Linked DNA regions of Homo sapiens: all the other regions are linked to region 1. The links are contacts of gene promoters, found by promoter capture Hi-C in blood cells and fetal thymus (Javierre and others, 2016). All regions are on one chromosome and are shown on one strand. Each heading gives the region's core, a stretch centred on a gene start or on the middle of the fragment in contact. The rest is flanking DNA. Distances are from core to core; before and after follow the strand shown. Region 1 holds the start of B4GALT4 (beta-1,4-galactosyltransferase 4). Region 2 overlaps TMEM39A (transmembrane protein 39A). Region 3 has its middle 52 kb from the start of TEX55.

What was found. The method cuts DNA at HindIII sites, captures the fragments that hold promoters and counts their contacts. A CHiCAGO score of 5 or more calls a contact.
Region 2: a fragment that was not itself captured here is called in contact with the fragment with the promoter of B4GALT4 in region 1 in 1 of 17 cell types (activated CD4 T cells); the score reaches 5.7 in activated CD4 T cells.
Region 3: a contact is called between a fragment that was not itself captured here and the fragment with the promoter of B4GALT4 in region 1, in 1 of 17 cell types (naive CD4 T cells). The highest score is 5.7, in naive CD4 T cells.

What each region holds. Positions count from the first base shown.
Region 1 is chr3:119,239,628-119,244,080 of GRCh38, reverse strand. It overlaps B4GALT4 (beta-1,4-galactosyltransferase 4), which reads left to right and starts at 3,203. Exons shown (of 8, transcript NM_003778.4): 1 at 3,203-3,231. All of the region lies in intron 3 of B4GALT4-AS1 (B4GALT4 antisense RNA 1), which reads right to left. RefSeq lists silencers at 2,337-2,386, 3,037-3,516. The HindIII fragment of the contact is 11,429 bases long and covers 2,501-4,453 here.
Region 2 is chr3:119,433,211-119,437,663 of GRCh38, reverse strand. It overlaps TMEM39A (transmembrane protein 39A), which reads left to right. Exons shown (of 9, transcript NM_018266.3): 7 at 686-873; 8 at 2,782-2,902. Among named protein-coding and RNA genes, the nearest start is that of TMEM39A, 28 kb to the left of the region's middle. The HindIII fragment of the contact is 842 bases long and covers 2,095-2,936 here.
Region 3 is chr3:119,092,009-119,096,461 of GRCh38, reverse strand. It overlaps a transcript of IGSF11 not described here. Among named protein-coding and RNA genes, the nearest start is that of TEX55, 52 kb to the left of the region's middle. The HindIII fragment of the contact is 1,990 bases long and covers 829-2,818 here.

The DNA of each region.
Region 1 (4,453 bases), core at 1,954-4,453:
CTCAAGATCATGGATCAAGACTTCTCTGCTATCATGACTATCTTATCTTTTTTTCTATTTTTTCCATATTTCCTGCTGGGAAATCCATGGGACCATAATTTATAGATGGCTTTAGCTAAGGCTCATGCTCTAACAAGAAAAACTAGAGCAACTGTTGGGTTTCTGGACTGATGCCAAAAAAAAAACCCCTAGGAAACAATTTTATTAATGCCAATGCCTCTCTGTGAAATGAAAGCCACCCTAAAACCTCAAAAGCAGATTGGAAAGCTATCTTTAATTTTGTAGATATCACTGCTACTTGCTTTCCTACACTTACTGAAAGCAATAACCCAACTTCTCCAATTAATAACCTACCAGCTACCAAATATAGAAAAGCTGAGTGATTCTTTTTTTTTTTTTTTTTTAGATTAACTTGCTTGGCTCCTTTATTATTCTCCTTTATTATTAAACTTCCTCAGCATAATGTGATTTGGGCAGACAGAGATGTTATCCTGTGGCTTATTGTTGGCCTACATTCTCTTTTTTTTTTTTAAATTTATTTTTTTTTTAGTATTTATTGATCATTCTTGGGTGTTTCTCGGAGAGGGGGATTTGGCAGGGTCATAGGACAATAGTGGAGGGAAGGTCAGCAGATAAACATGTGAACAAAGGTCTCTGGTTTTCCTAGGCAGAGGGCCCTGCCGCCTTCCGCAGTGTTTGTGTCCCTGGGTAGTTGAGATTAGGGAGTGGTGATGACTCTTAGCGAGCACGCTGCCTTCAAGCATCTGTTTAACAAAGCACATCTTGCACTGCCCTTAATCCATTTAACCCTTAGTGGACACAGCACATGTTTCAGAGAGCAGGGGGTTGGGGGTAAGGTTATAGATTAACAGCATCCCAAGGCAGAAGAATTTTTCCTAGTACAGAACAAAATGGAGTCTCCTATGTCAACTTCTTTCTACACAGACACAATAACAATCTGATCTCTCTTTCTTTTCCCCACATTTCCCCCTTTTCTATTGGACAAAACCGCCATCGTCATCATGGCCCGTTCTCAATGAGCTGTTGGGTACACCTCCCAGACAGGGTGGTGGCCGGGCAGAGGGGCTCCTCACTTCCCAGACGGGGCTGCCGGGCAGAGGGGCCCCCCACCTCCCAGACGGGGCGGCGGCCGGGCAGAGGGGCCCCCACCTCCCAGACGGGGCGGCGGCTGGGCAGAGGCGCCCCCCACCTCCCGGACGGGGCGGCTGGCCGGGCGGGGGCTGCCCCCCACTTGCCGGGCGGGGCGGCTGGCCAGGCGGGGGCTGCCCCCCCACCTCCCGGGCGGGGCGGCTGGCTGGGCGGCTGCCCCCCACCTCCCGGACCAGGCAGCTGCCCGGCGGAGGGGCTCCTCACTTCTCAGACAGGGCGGCCAGTCAGAGACGCTCCTCACCTCCCAGACGGGGTGGCGGCGGGGCAGAGACACTCCTCAGTTCCTAGACGGGTCGCCGCCGGGCAGAGGCATTCTTCACCTCTCAGACGGGGTGGTGGGGCAGAGGCGCTCCCCACATCCCAGATGATGGGCGGCCAGGCAGAGACGCTCCTCACTTCCTAGACGGGGTGGCGGCCGGGAAGAAGCGCTCCTCACTTTCCAGACTGGGCGGCTGGGCAGAGGGGCTCCCCACATCCCAGATGATGGGCGGCCAGGCAGAGACGCTCCTCACTTCCTATACGGCGTGGCAGCAGGGCAGAGGCTGCAATCTCGGCACTTTGGGAGGCCAAGGCAGGCGGCTGGGAGGTGGAGGTTGTAGCGATCCGAGATCAAGCCACTGCACTCCAGCCTGGGCAACATTGAGCACTGAGTGAGCGAGACTCCGTCTGCAATCCCGGCACCTCGGGAGGCCGAGGCTGGCAGACCACTCGCGGTCAGGAGCTGGAGACCAGCCCGGCCAACTCGGCGAAACCCCGTCTCCACCAAAAAATACGAAAACCAGTCAGGTGTGGCGGTGCGCGCCTGCAATCCCAGGCACTCGGCAGGCTGAGGCAGGGGAATCAGGCAGGGAGGCTGCCGTGAGCCGAGATGGCGGCAGTACAGTCCAGCCTCGGCTCGGCATCAGAGGGAGACCATGCAAAGGGGAGACGAGGACCGTGCAAAGGGGGGAGGGAGATGGGGAGGGAGACAGAGAGGGGGAGGGGGAGGGGAAAAGCTGAGTGATTCTTGCAAAAGGTATATATTATGCTTCCAGGCATCATATGCTCAAGACCTGGGGACTATGTGGGTATAAGTAACTGATTGTATAACGCCACTGGATGAAATCCAGTAATGTCCTTTTTCACTAAATGTGGTTATACACCCTTACAGCATGTTACAAAGGGAACACAAAAAAATAAGTTTCACACTGGACCTTGTTCAGGAGCAGTGTTGACCTATTTCACTGACCTATCCTCAACTGCCACTAGGTGGCCCTCTTTTCCAGCTTCCAAGGGCCTACATTGGGCCTATGCGGCCTCAGTATAGCCTCAGATTTCCTGCTATGAAGCTTAATGAGCCCAGCACTGGCTCTAGCTATGGTTTGTTCCTTTTTGGGTGGAGTGGATGTGTGGTTCTTGGAGAATCTACTACTTTCCCGTGAGTGCAGTGGGAGACTGCATTAGAGAATCTAGCTATCCTGACTGCCTAAACAGAGCCTACCATAATTTTTCACTCAAATCTTTAGTGTAAATATAATTGTCTTTGCTTTCTGTAATAATATCTTTGAAGAAATACGGATTTAAAAAAATCATTTAATATTCTCAGACCTGCAACATGGGAAAAATATTATTATTATTATTATCATTTTTGCAGTTGAGAGGGCTGAAATCTCGCAGGGTGATTAAGTTTATTAGCCTCTCTAAAGTCTCAGTTTCCCACTCTGTAAAATGGAAGGGTCCCTATCTCTTTCCTACTGCTTTGTGAGTATTTAAGGGGATGGAATTTGGGAAGCGCTCAGCACCCAGTCTACTATTGGCACAGGGTTTTAAAGCCACCCAGAGGCCGAGGCGTCAACCCTCCGTTTCCCTCCCGGTGCTCCTTCCAGCGCCCGGTGTGGTCGATTTGGCGGGGGTGGAGCGCCAGGCGCGTGCAGAGCCGGGCGGACCAGCCTCTCCGGCCAAGGCGGGAGGCGGAGCTCGTACTCAAGAGCCGCCTCCCGGGCGGCTGGGGCGGTCCCCGAGCTGCTTTCCGCGTTCTCCCCTCTCCGCGGGCAGTGCTAGCTCGCCGCGGCCGCCTCCGGGGTGAGTACGCTGGCTCCGCCGGCGCCCGGGAAATGCAGTTCCCTGGACACGGGCGCCGTGCGAGGGTAGCCGGGCGACGGCCGGGGTCAGTCCCAGGGCTGTAGCGGGGCGGGCGTGGGGATGACGTGGCGGCGTCCGTGGGGCAGTCCCGCCTCAGCCGGAGCGGTGGGCCGGGCCGGGGGCCTACGGAGGCCGAGCCTGGCGGGAGGCACCGGCTCAGGTGCTGGCGTTCCGCGCGGCGCCGCCTCTGCTGCGGGCCGGGGGAGCCAGACGAGGTGCTGCCGGGTAGGAAAAAATCCAGGGCTCATTCATACCCCAGGTCACGATTCCGGGGTCGCCCCCAGCACTTCTCCGCCGGGTGCATCAACCTGAAAAAGCCCCTTCTTCCTGGAAACCCTCCTTCTCCAGCGTTTCAACGGGGAAACTGATCAGCTGACACCAGCCCCAGTCCTGCGAGGGGCCGGCGACCTTTGACCTTTCTCCAAAGGGGTTGGTCACCTGGATTATAAAAGACTTCGGAGACAGCCATCCAGTGTTTGTTGATCTGTATCCCTTGATGTTCTGTCTTCCATTAGATAAGGGCTGTTAATTCTTGGTTTGAAAAAAAACAGACAAAGTCCAAAGGACTCTGCATCGAGGAGAGGCCTATGGGTTGGTAGCCTTAGGAGAGTAGTTATCAACAGTGGGTGGGTGTGCACACTGTTGCAAAGTGTTCCAGAGTGGGTGAGGGATGGGGACGTGGCGGTGGTGAGGGTACTGGTAGACCTCCTCAGCCGTTTGGTGATGAAAAGGAGGAAAAAGAAAATGGTAATCTGAGCGTGGAGGCGAGTTGTGGCTTTTTTTTTTTTTTTTAAATTTTTAAAGAAAGGAAAATAACACCTTTAAGATGCAAGAAAATCAAGGAGAGATCAGGATGAATAGGATTCAGGGTCCGGATTGAGAAACTGGGATTCAGAAGGGAGGGCTATTCCCGAGACCCAGGCGGGGAGTGCTGGAAGGTCTCTCTTGGGAGAGGAGATAATGCTTGATTGGATATAGTTCAGAAGTTTTTGGAATTTTGTCTTCTAGAGCAGGTTTGTTCTTTATGGAAATTGTAAACCCCATGAAATTGCAATAACTTTCGTCTACCTATAGCTTTGATCAGATTGAAAACATACGTTGTGAAAAAGTACTGACCTGGATTGAACTGTTTGACTACATAATCTAAGGGGAAGTGGATAGA
Region 2 (4,453 bases), core at 1,266-3,765, 190 kb before region 1:
CTCCCCTTTGGCAGCCTGGATGGTGGAGTTCGGCTGCATCTGGAGTGCACTAATACCGCTCCTGGTTGGCGGATAGGTATTTCCATATATGTGATGCACCCGTGGTGGTTCCCTCTTTTTTTCTTTTTTTTTTTTTTTTTAAGTATTTTTAGTTTCTGGGGAGAATCAAAATGTACTTATAATAGAATCAGTATGTAGTAGCTTAAGAGGACCAAGGTTTCAGTAAAACTCAGCCTACTGTGGTTGATCTTAACATGGTTATCAGGAGTTTCCTTGAATTTAATCTAGCCCTTATCTAAACTTCAGTTTACTTTAATAGAAAAGAAAAATGGTCTGGATGTCACTTGGGCCCAAAATCTTTTGGTACATTTTAGTGCCCTTTCTTCACCCATTCAGAAGTACTTCTGCAGCTGGAATGGTCCTTCAGAGAACACTCAGTTCTTCTAGAAAGGAGACACTTAAAATATAATTGCCTCTCCCTCCCATCCCTAACTCATACAGCCAGAAAGTCAGGTTGAAGGATTGTGGAGGACTCTGCTCTTGAACTTTTCTGCACGGACAGCAGGACCACCAGTGCATGTGTGACTCAGTGTGGCATTTGTCTGCAGGGCATATGTACACCAACCCATCCCTGCCTCTTTTTACCAGTGCATGGATCATTTCTCTCTCTTCTGATCTCTTCCAGAGTACCCAGTACTATGACATGCGCTGGTCATGTGAGCACCTCATTATGGTGTGGATCAATGCTTTTGTCATGCTCACCACGCAACTGTTGCCATCCAAATACTGTGATTTGCTACATAAATCAGCTGCTCACCTGGGCAAGTGGCAGAAGTTGGAACATGGGTCCTACAGCAATGCTCCACAGCACATGTGAGTAAGCTAGAGGGTAAAACCATGTAACACTTTCTACATGCTGCTGATCATGTTTATTTGCTTTGTATGTCATTCTTGTTCTTGGCTTTGAACATTTAATTTTTAGTTTTTGTCTTACATGGATGCTTGTCATCATGCTAAACTGAATACAAGGGACATTAACTCATTTCCACCACCACCCCAGCTCCTTAAATGCGTTCTACCTTTCAGCTGCCCAGTCACTCTAGTGTGTGTAATTTGTCTCCCAAGCAATGCACTTGGCGTTCTCTTTCAATCTTACCCCTTTGCCCGAATTCAAAGAGTCATATATTTTATTTCTTTTTAGAAGACTTTAAGATTTGTCTTCTCATCTTCATTGCCACAGCTGAGTAGTTGCTAGCTATTCATCTCACACTTAGCTGGAATATGATTCTCTCATTTTTTCTTTCTAATACATGCAGTTTTGTTCTAGTAATTTTCCTTACCTGTACTTTTTTACTATTATTTTCTTTCTAAACTCTCTACTGAATATTTCCCTGCTTCTCCTGTGTTTAAGTGAGAACTGTGCCTGACTGAGTTCTTTGGAAGAATTTTTCTCATTGTGTCCCCCTTATCAGTCATTACTCCACATGGCTCCTATGATCCAAAATGGCTAACATTAGGACCGTTTTATTCTGTCACTTCTGAGTCCTTCATCATACTTTTCTTTCAGACCCAAACCATCTTCATCTTCCCCCTTTTGTAATTTGAACATTTCACAAATTTCATCTAGAAATTTTTCCCTAGTTAAGTGGGACAGATTGAGGTGACCTTCCCTTTCCCTCTCCCCCTGAGAGTTCTCCCTTCAATTATCTGCCTTGATGTCTGATACAGATTAGCACAGGCCTTCAAGCCCAGGAACTGAAAGAGATTGGGCCAGGCTGAAAAGAAACCCGACTGTGGGCAAAGGACAGATTTCAATAAAAATTGAAAATACAATCCACAGTACTAGTACTGTACATCTTCAGGCTACTGATGGCACATGGCCATGAGGTGTATCATCACTTTAATGCTGGTAAGTGTGAGCAAGGCCGGTGGAACATTTTCTGAACTGGGAAAGCTTTAGGGTGCTAGAATTTTTTTTTTTTTTTTTAATAACATATCTAAACTGCCTCCCAGTTCTTATCCTAGGAAACTAACCTTTCCAAAATCAGGAAGAGATGAATTAACTTAGATTTTTTTTTTTTTTTTTAAAAAGCTTAACCTGAAGATCCCTGTCCCCACCCAAACTCCATTATGCTGGAAAGAATGAAGCTGCTGCTTCTGTAACTTCTTTTCCCCCAGAGAAACCTCTATAAAAATAAACCATGAAAGCAGTGAAAAGTCTGTGTGTGTGTGTGAGATGTATCGCTGTGTTCTACTGTATATCTTCTTACAGTTGTGAGGTATTTGAATTGTGTGATAAGCAAACTGATTTCCTATAGTTTTTTGGGATGTAATTCTGCAGTAAATGTCATGCTAGATTGACAATGTGCTAATTTCTCCACTATTCTTATTACCATCAGCTTTCTCTTCTTGTTTGTTCCCTCTAGCATTTCCACCAGTAGACTCTGCTCACTTGGGATGGAGATGACAGTCACCCTGCTTACACACTGTTTTCTGGCTTACACATTTATGTCTGCTCATTCTTCTAAGCCTCTTAAGTCCTTTGACACTGAGTTAACTATATTTCTTTGCAACCTCTGTTTACTATATAGCAATGAAGTTAAAGTAACAAATCCTTTCTAAAACTACTCCAGTTTGACCATGGAATTACTGTATTTTCAGAATTCAGGCAGATGAAGCCTTGATTATTTAATTCCTTCCATAAAAATACAGCTGGCCTTGCCAGATGCTATCTTATCTGTAATTGCCAATATGCTAACATTGCATTTCTTTCTCCCTTAGTTGGTCAGAAAATACAATATGGCCTCAAGGGGTGCTGGTGCGGCACAGCAGATGTTTATATAGAGCCATGGGGCCTTACAACGTGGCAGTGCCTTCAGATGTATCTCATGCCCGCTTTTATGCAAGTACCGCTTATTTATTTTCAAACATAAGCTTAGGGGTAAGTGTTAGGAGGCCACTCTATGTGGAAGCATGTAGCATAGCATGTAGCACATACTAGGAAATTATTACATGGTAATTATTGCTACTAGCGTAACAGTGGTCCCTGTACTTTGGAAATGTCTTTTGAAGGGCAGTTTGAAGATCATATACTGTTATTCCAGTTTCAGTAGCTTAGCTGGTTTCTCTAGTTACATTGGTATTTGTCGAATCTAGTATTACTTGAAACAAGCAGGCAGTTATCTAAGACTCCTTTTTCATCTTACCATTTTTGTTTTGTAAGAGTTTGGTTTAGTGGTATTGTTAAGATATATTGTATCTGTGTATCCATAGTGACATTTAATATATTAATAGTGCGGTGGTTTTATTTTTAGGTATTTGTCATATATATTGTTTCTTTACAAAGGCTTTAGCTTCCCCTTTGGAAGTCAGACAAATGCCATGAAAAGGAAAAAAGCTTAAAAGTTAAAAAAGGAAAAAGCAATAGAAACCCACTACATTCCATTGAACTCATGCCTTCGGTTATGATCTATTTGGTCTTTCAGCCTTCCAGAAATTGTCTGTACAAGGCAAAAGTATATACTTATAAAAGAAAGGCCAGCTGACTAATGCAAGTGGGGAAAAGTAGGTGCCTGCAGGGGACTGTTTATAGTAAAAATGCCTATAGTGCAGTGCATTGCTTTTGAAAGGGGATCATATTCTAAACAAGAATTGGAGATCTTTTTTAAGATACTTGCATCTCTTTCTCCCTCTGTCCTTCTCAGTTCCTGTGAGGGTATATGGACTTTCTGGTTCTGCAGGTGTTTGTTATTGAGGGACACTTCAATTAAGTTTTGGGAACTTGCCCCTGGGCATGATGCTTATAAATACCATGGTAGGGGAATGCAGGGTGGGGCAGATTGGGAGGAACATGGGGAAGGTGGAAAGCCCTTGAGTGAGAAAACGACAAGCATCTCCTTCTTGACGCCAGTGGAAATGCCTTAAGGTGGAGGAAAGGACTTAAGTCACAAGTACATGAGCACTTGATTTCTATATAGAATATTTAATTCAGCCAGCTGAATTCTCTAGGCCATTAATGACTTCTGTTGGTCCTTGCTGTCTCCTTGAGACCTGTGATAGCGAAATAGTTCATTAGAATTTTCTGCTTGAAAATTAAGTAGTTTCCTTGCTAGCTTTGGACAGCTGAAAAATCGGGTGGAATCTATGGAAAAAAGATTAGGCAAGTTGATTTATTACTGATTTTGCAGGACTGGATAGACAGTTAAATCAGTGCTTCTCCAAGTGATCCATGGGCCACCTGCTGATAAATCACCTGGCCCACTATTTTTAAAAAGTGATTCAGGGCCCCTATATCAGACTTCTGAACCAGAATCTCTGGATGATCCCAGGAATTGGCAGCATTTGTGGATTTGGAAATGATTCTTAGGCACACTGAAGTTTCAAAACAGTCATTTAAAGTGTGCCTATTACCTATAGCTGTCAAACTCCAGGTTAAACATTTTCTTCCTCTTGA
Region 3 (4,453 bases), core at 574-3,073, 150 kb after region 1:
TTATTATTAATATAGATTGCATTTCATTTTAAGAATTTATAACCATATATATGTATATGGCTGTATATGTGTGTATATATACACATGTATATATGTGTGTGCATTATATATATGTATGTATATGTGTGTGTGTATATATATATTCTACTTGAAGTCAGAGCCATGTTTCCCACTTCCACATGTATGTCCAAAAGCCTGGGCCATAAGGGGTAGACCAGTTAATAAAGACTTGAGGGTGAGTATGCCCACCAGTAGGTACCCTCCCATCAAGAAGAGTGCTTGAAAGCCAAGTCACTGTAACCATGATAGAGTTTACTCAATACATCCATTGTTTTCTTAGAGTTTCTACTAAGTACTAAACACTGTGCTAGGTAGTTGCTGGAGTTAAATATAAATAAATAAATAAATAAATAAAACAGTTTTCATCCTTAAGGAATTCTAAGTATACTTGAAAAGAAGGACATGCAAGTGGATAGTTAGAACATGATATAAGCTAAGTAAAAAATAAAGAAGTTTATAAGATGCAATCTTCCATGGGCCCTGAGTATCCCCATATACTCCTTCTGGGTATACCAAGAATGAAAGCTTCTGATTTATCTCTACCTAAGCCATTCTCAGGGTTGGGTTTGCAGTATGCAACCTTGAGGGTTTAGGTAACTTCTTCCCCCAAAGAATAGGCTTGCTAACTGTGAAAGTGCTGAATCTCCAAGTTTAGTGTTTCTCTCCTGTAAAGCAACCTACTGCATGTGTAGGCCATGGTCTCTAACTCAATGTTGTTTTTTTCTGTGAGACTTGGAGGATGTGAGGAACTGGCATGAACATGAAGCTTTGGCTACTACTTTTGCTGTAAGTAATGAAGTCCTTGGTCCCTATCTAGGAATCTCATGTCTTCTGCCAGGATCCATGAACAGTAATAGGTTAATTTGTTAGCTTGTAAGTAGAGTAAAATCCTAGACCCTTCATAATCCCTGACTGTACTCTGCCTTGGGAAAGTAAACTGATATTTTAGCTAAGACTTGAAGAGTGAATGTGGATTTTTAGGCTGACAATAAGGTCACCTGTACCATGTCAAGTAACAGAGTCAGGCAAGGCCACCCTGTGAATATTTTAGCTCTCTTGTTAATTCTGACCCTTGTATGTCTGCTTGGTTCATTGTTCAATTCTTGGAAATATTGTGTATATTCTCTTTGTGCAAGATTTTTTATAGTCTATGGTTATTAGTGTGGAGAGGGTATTAACAAAAACAAAGATTATACATTCTCAGATACGAGCATGAACCATCCCAAGTGTGTATGTATTAGATTCAGCTTCTTATTGTCATTTTTCAAATACCAACTTTGTTTGAGTTTTTACTTTGATACTTTTCTTTAGCTCATTTTTCAATGTGAAATTACTTTTCCTGAACTTTTGGAATAGGGTGGGTTTCAGGAAAGTTTTTCATAATATTACAGAACTCCTTCCTTTATGTGGTGTTAAAAATATAGAGACTTGTCCAGGCTCGGTGGCTCACGTCTGTAATCCCAGCACTTTGGGAGGCCGAGGCGGCTGGATCATCTGAGGTCAGGTGTTCGAGACCAGCCTGGCCAATGTGGTGAAAGCTCATCTCTACTAAAAATACAAAAATTAGCTGGGTGTGGTGGCAGGAGCCTGTAATCCCAGCTACTCGGCAGGCTGAGGCAGGAGAATGGCTTGAACCTGGGAGGCGGAGGTTGCAGTGAACCGAGATTGTGCCATTGTACTCCAGCCTGGGCGACAAGAGTGAAACTCAGTCTAAAAAAAAAAAAAAAAAATAGAGTTGCTCTCTGGGATTTTCTGGCTTTGTTCACCTACCCTACTTTGGTGTAGATATTCTTGTTCCTTTTTTCCTATTCTTTTCAATTTTGGTTGCACTCACAGCAGTTTCTCTCTTTGTTCCACCCTTCTGTAGCACTCCTAGCTCTTTTTTCAGGATTTCCTTCCTGGAAGACATGAACTGATAAAAGGATTCTGTTGTTACATCTGTCAGAAGGTGCCTAATTGCTTGTTATCTTTCCTACCAAAGAAATGCTAATACCATACAGGTTTTCTGGCTGTTAGTGGTTCACCACTACCCATGTGTATGTTGTGGTTTATAGGAGTACCTTGTTGTTCAATTAGTAAATGAATATTACTCATTTTTTGGTACAACAACCAAAAAATGAGTAATATTTATTTACTAATTGAACAACAACTTTTTTTTTTTTTTTTTTTTTTTTTTTTACTTCGCTATGTAGTCCTTCTTTCCATTTTATGTGGGGACTTGAAAAAATGGAAAAGGTATATTTCCACTCCTTCATCTTCCTGGGACCCATATTAAAATTTTTATCAACTGTAACTATTAATATCATTAGCTCGGCCAATATATTCCTGCTACATGTTATACCTCATGAGGTGATTTACCGAGATTCTGCACCTTTACGAAAATGTCTCTTAAAATCTCTTAAGATCATATTTTCTGATTGTATCTAGGCTATCTTCTGATCTTAATTGGATTTCTCCCTTAGAAGTGCTCATGTTGATTAGCTGAGATGTGTAAATACTCTTGGATATTCTATTTCTCATGATAAATTATCCATATATTCACTTCAAGTTAAGCCTTCTTTTGGGTCTACTATCTGTGCCACAGTATGAGTTGGGTACAAGAGTCAGAGAGTTGAATAAACCATAGACCCTACACTGAGAAAGCTCAAAGGCAAATGGTTTACTGGCATTAGGGACCTGTCTTTACCTCTGATGATGTCAGATCCCTGAAACAACCTCTGATGAAGAAAAGGAACTGAGCTTTTTGACTGTCAAAGCTTTATGAAAATATCTAGTGAACTTTCTGGAAGGTAGAGGGAAGTAAACTGCTGCTGAGCCCCAAATTAATGTGGAGGACAATACTTTGCTTTCGGTATTGACGTTGAAGATACCTCGTGGTTATTAAAGATTTGTCGTCCTAAAATGTGGCTGGGTACAGGCATTTACTGACATAAATTTTTCCTAAGAAGTGTTTTCAACCAGAGTAAGTTTAACGGTCAGGTTTAAAAAAAAAAAAACGGGTCTCAGAAGCCCATGTGTGTAAATGGCCAGCAGCTTCTTCGGGGAGTTCTCCATGGTAGTGTGTTTGGGTCAGAGCTCATTCCATTGATATGAAGCTGATGCAGTGTAATCCCTGGGAAGTGTCCAAAAAAGTACAGTGCTAATGATTGAAGGTAAAATACAGAAGTGTTGAAGGCGGACGTAGCTCAGCAATCTTTAGTGTCTTCTGTGAGTTAACACAGGGTGTGCATTGTTCGATAGGGCATTTTCTGTTATTCACACTTTAAATATACCTTTGTGTTTATTTTTTTGTGTGTGTTGATATCTTAATATACAATCATGTGTTACTTAATGACAGGGGTACTCCCTGAAAAATGCATTGTTAGATAATTTTGTCATTGTGCAAACATCATACAGTGTACTGACACAAACCTCGATGGGATAGTCTACCATACACCTAGGCCATATGCTCACACAAACCTAGATGGTATAGCCCTACTAAACACCTAGCCTATTGCTCCTATGCTACAAACTTGTATAGCATGTTACTGTACTGAGTACTGTAGGCAATTGTATCAGAATGGTAAGTATTAGTGTATCCAAACATAGAAAAAGTACAACAAAAATATGGTATAAAGATGAAAAAAATGGTATATCTGTATAGGGCACTTAACATGAATGGAGCTTGCAGGACTAGAAGTTGCTCTGGGTAAGTTAGTGAATCAGTAGTGAGCGAAAGTGAAGGCCTAGGACATTACTATACACTACTGTAGACTTTAGAAACACTGTACACGGCTGGGCACAGTAGCTCATTCCTGTAATCCCCGCACTTTGGGAGGCTGAGAGGAGTGGATCACCTGAGGTCAGGAGTTCAAGACCAGCATGACCAACATGGCGAAACCACGTCTCTACTAAAAGTACAAACATTAGCCAGGCATGGTGCCACATGCCTGGAATCCCAGCTACTTGGGAGACAGGAGAATCTCTTGAACCTGGGAGGCTGAGGTTGCAGTGAGCCAAAATTGCGCCACTGCACTCAGCCTGGTCAACAGAGCGAGACTCCATCTAAAAAACAAAAAAAAGAAAGAAAGAAACACTGTATACCACTTAGGCTACACTAAATTTATTAAAAATTTTTTCTTTATTTTAACTTTGTTTAATCTTAGCTTACTATAATATTTTTACTTCAGAAACTTTTTAATTTTAACTTTTTTATTCCTTCATATCACTTAGCTTCAAGCGCGAACACAGGGCGTGGTGGCACAGACCTGTAATCCCACATACTTAGGAGTCTGAGGCATGAAAATTGCTTGAACCCAGGAGGCGGAGGTTTCAGTGAGCCGAGATTGCACCACTGCACTGCAATCTGAGTGACAGGGTGAGACTGTGCCTCAAAAACAAAAGAAAAAACCAC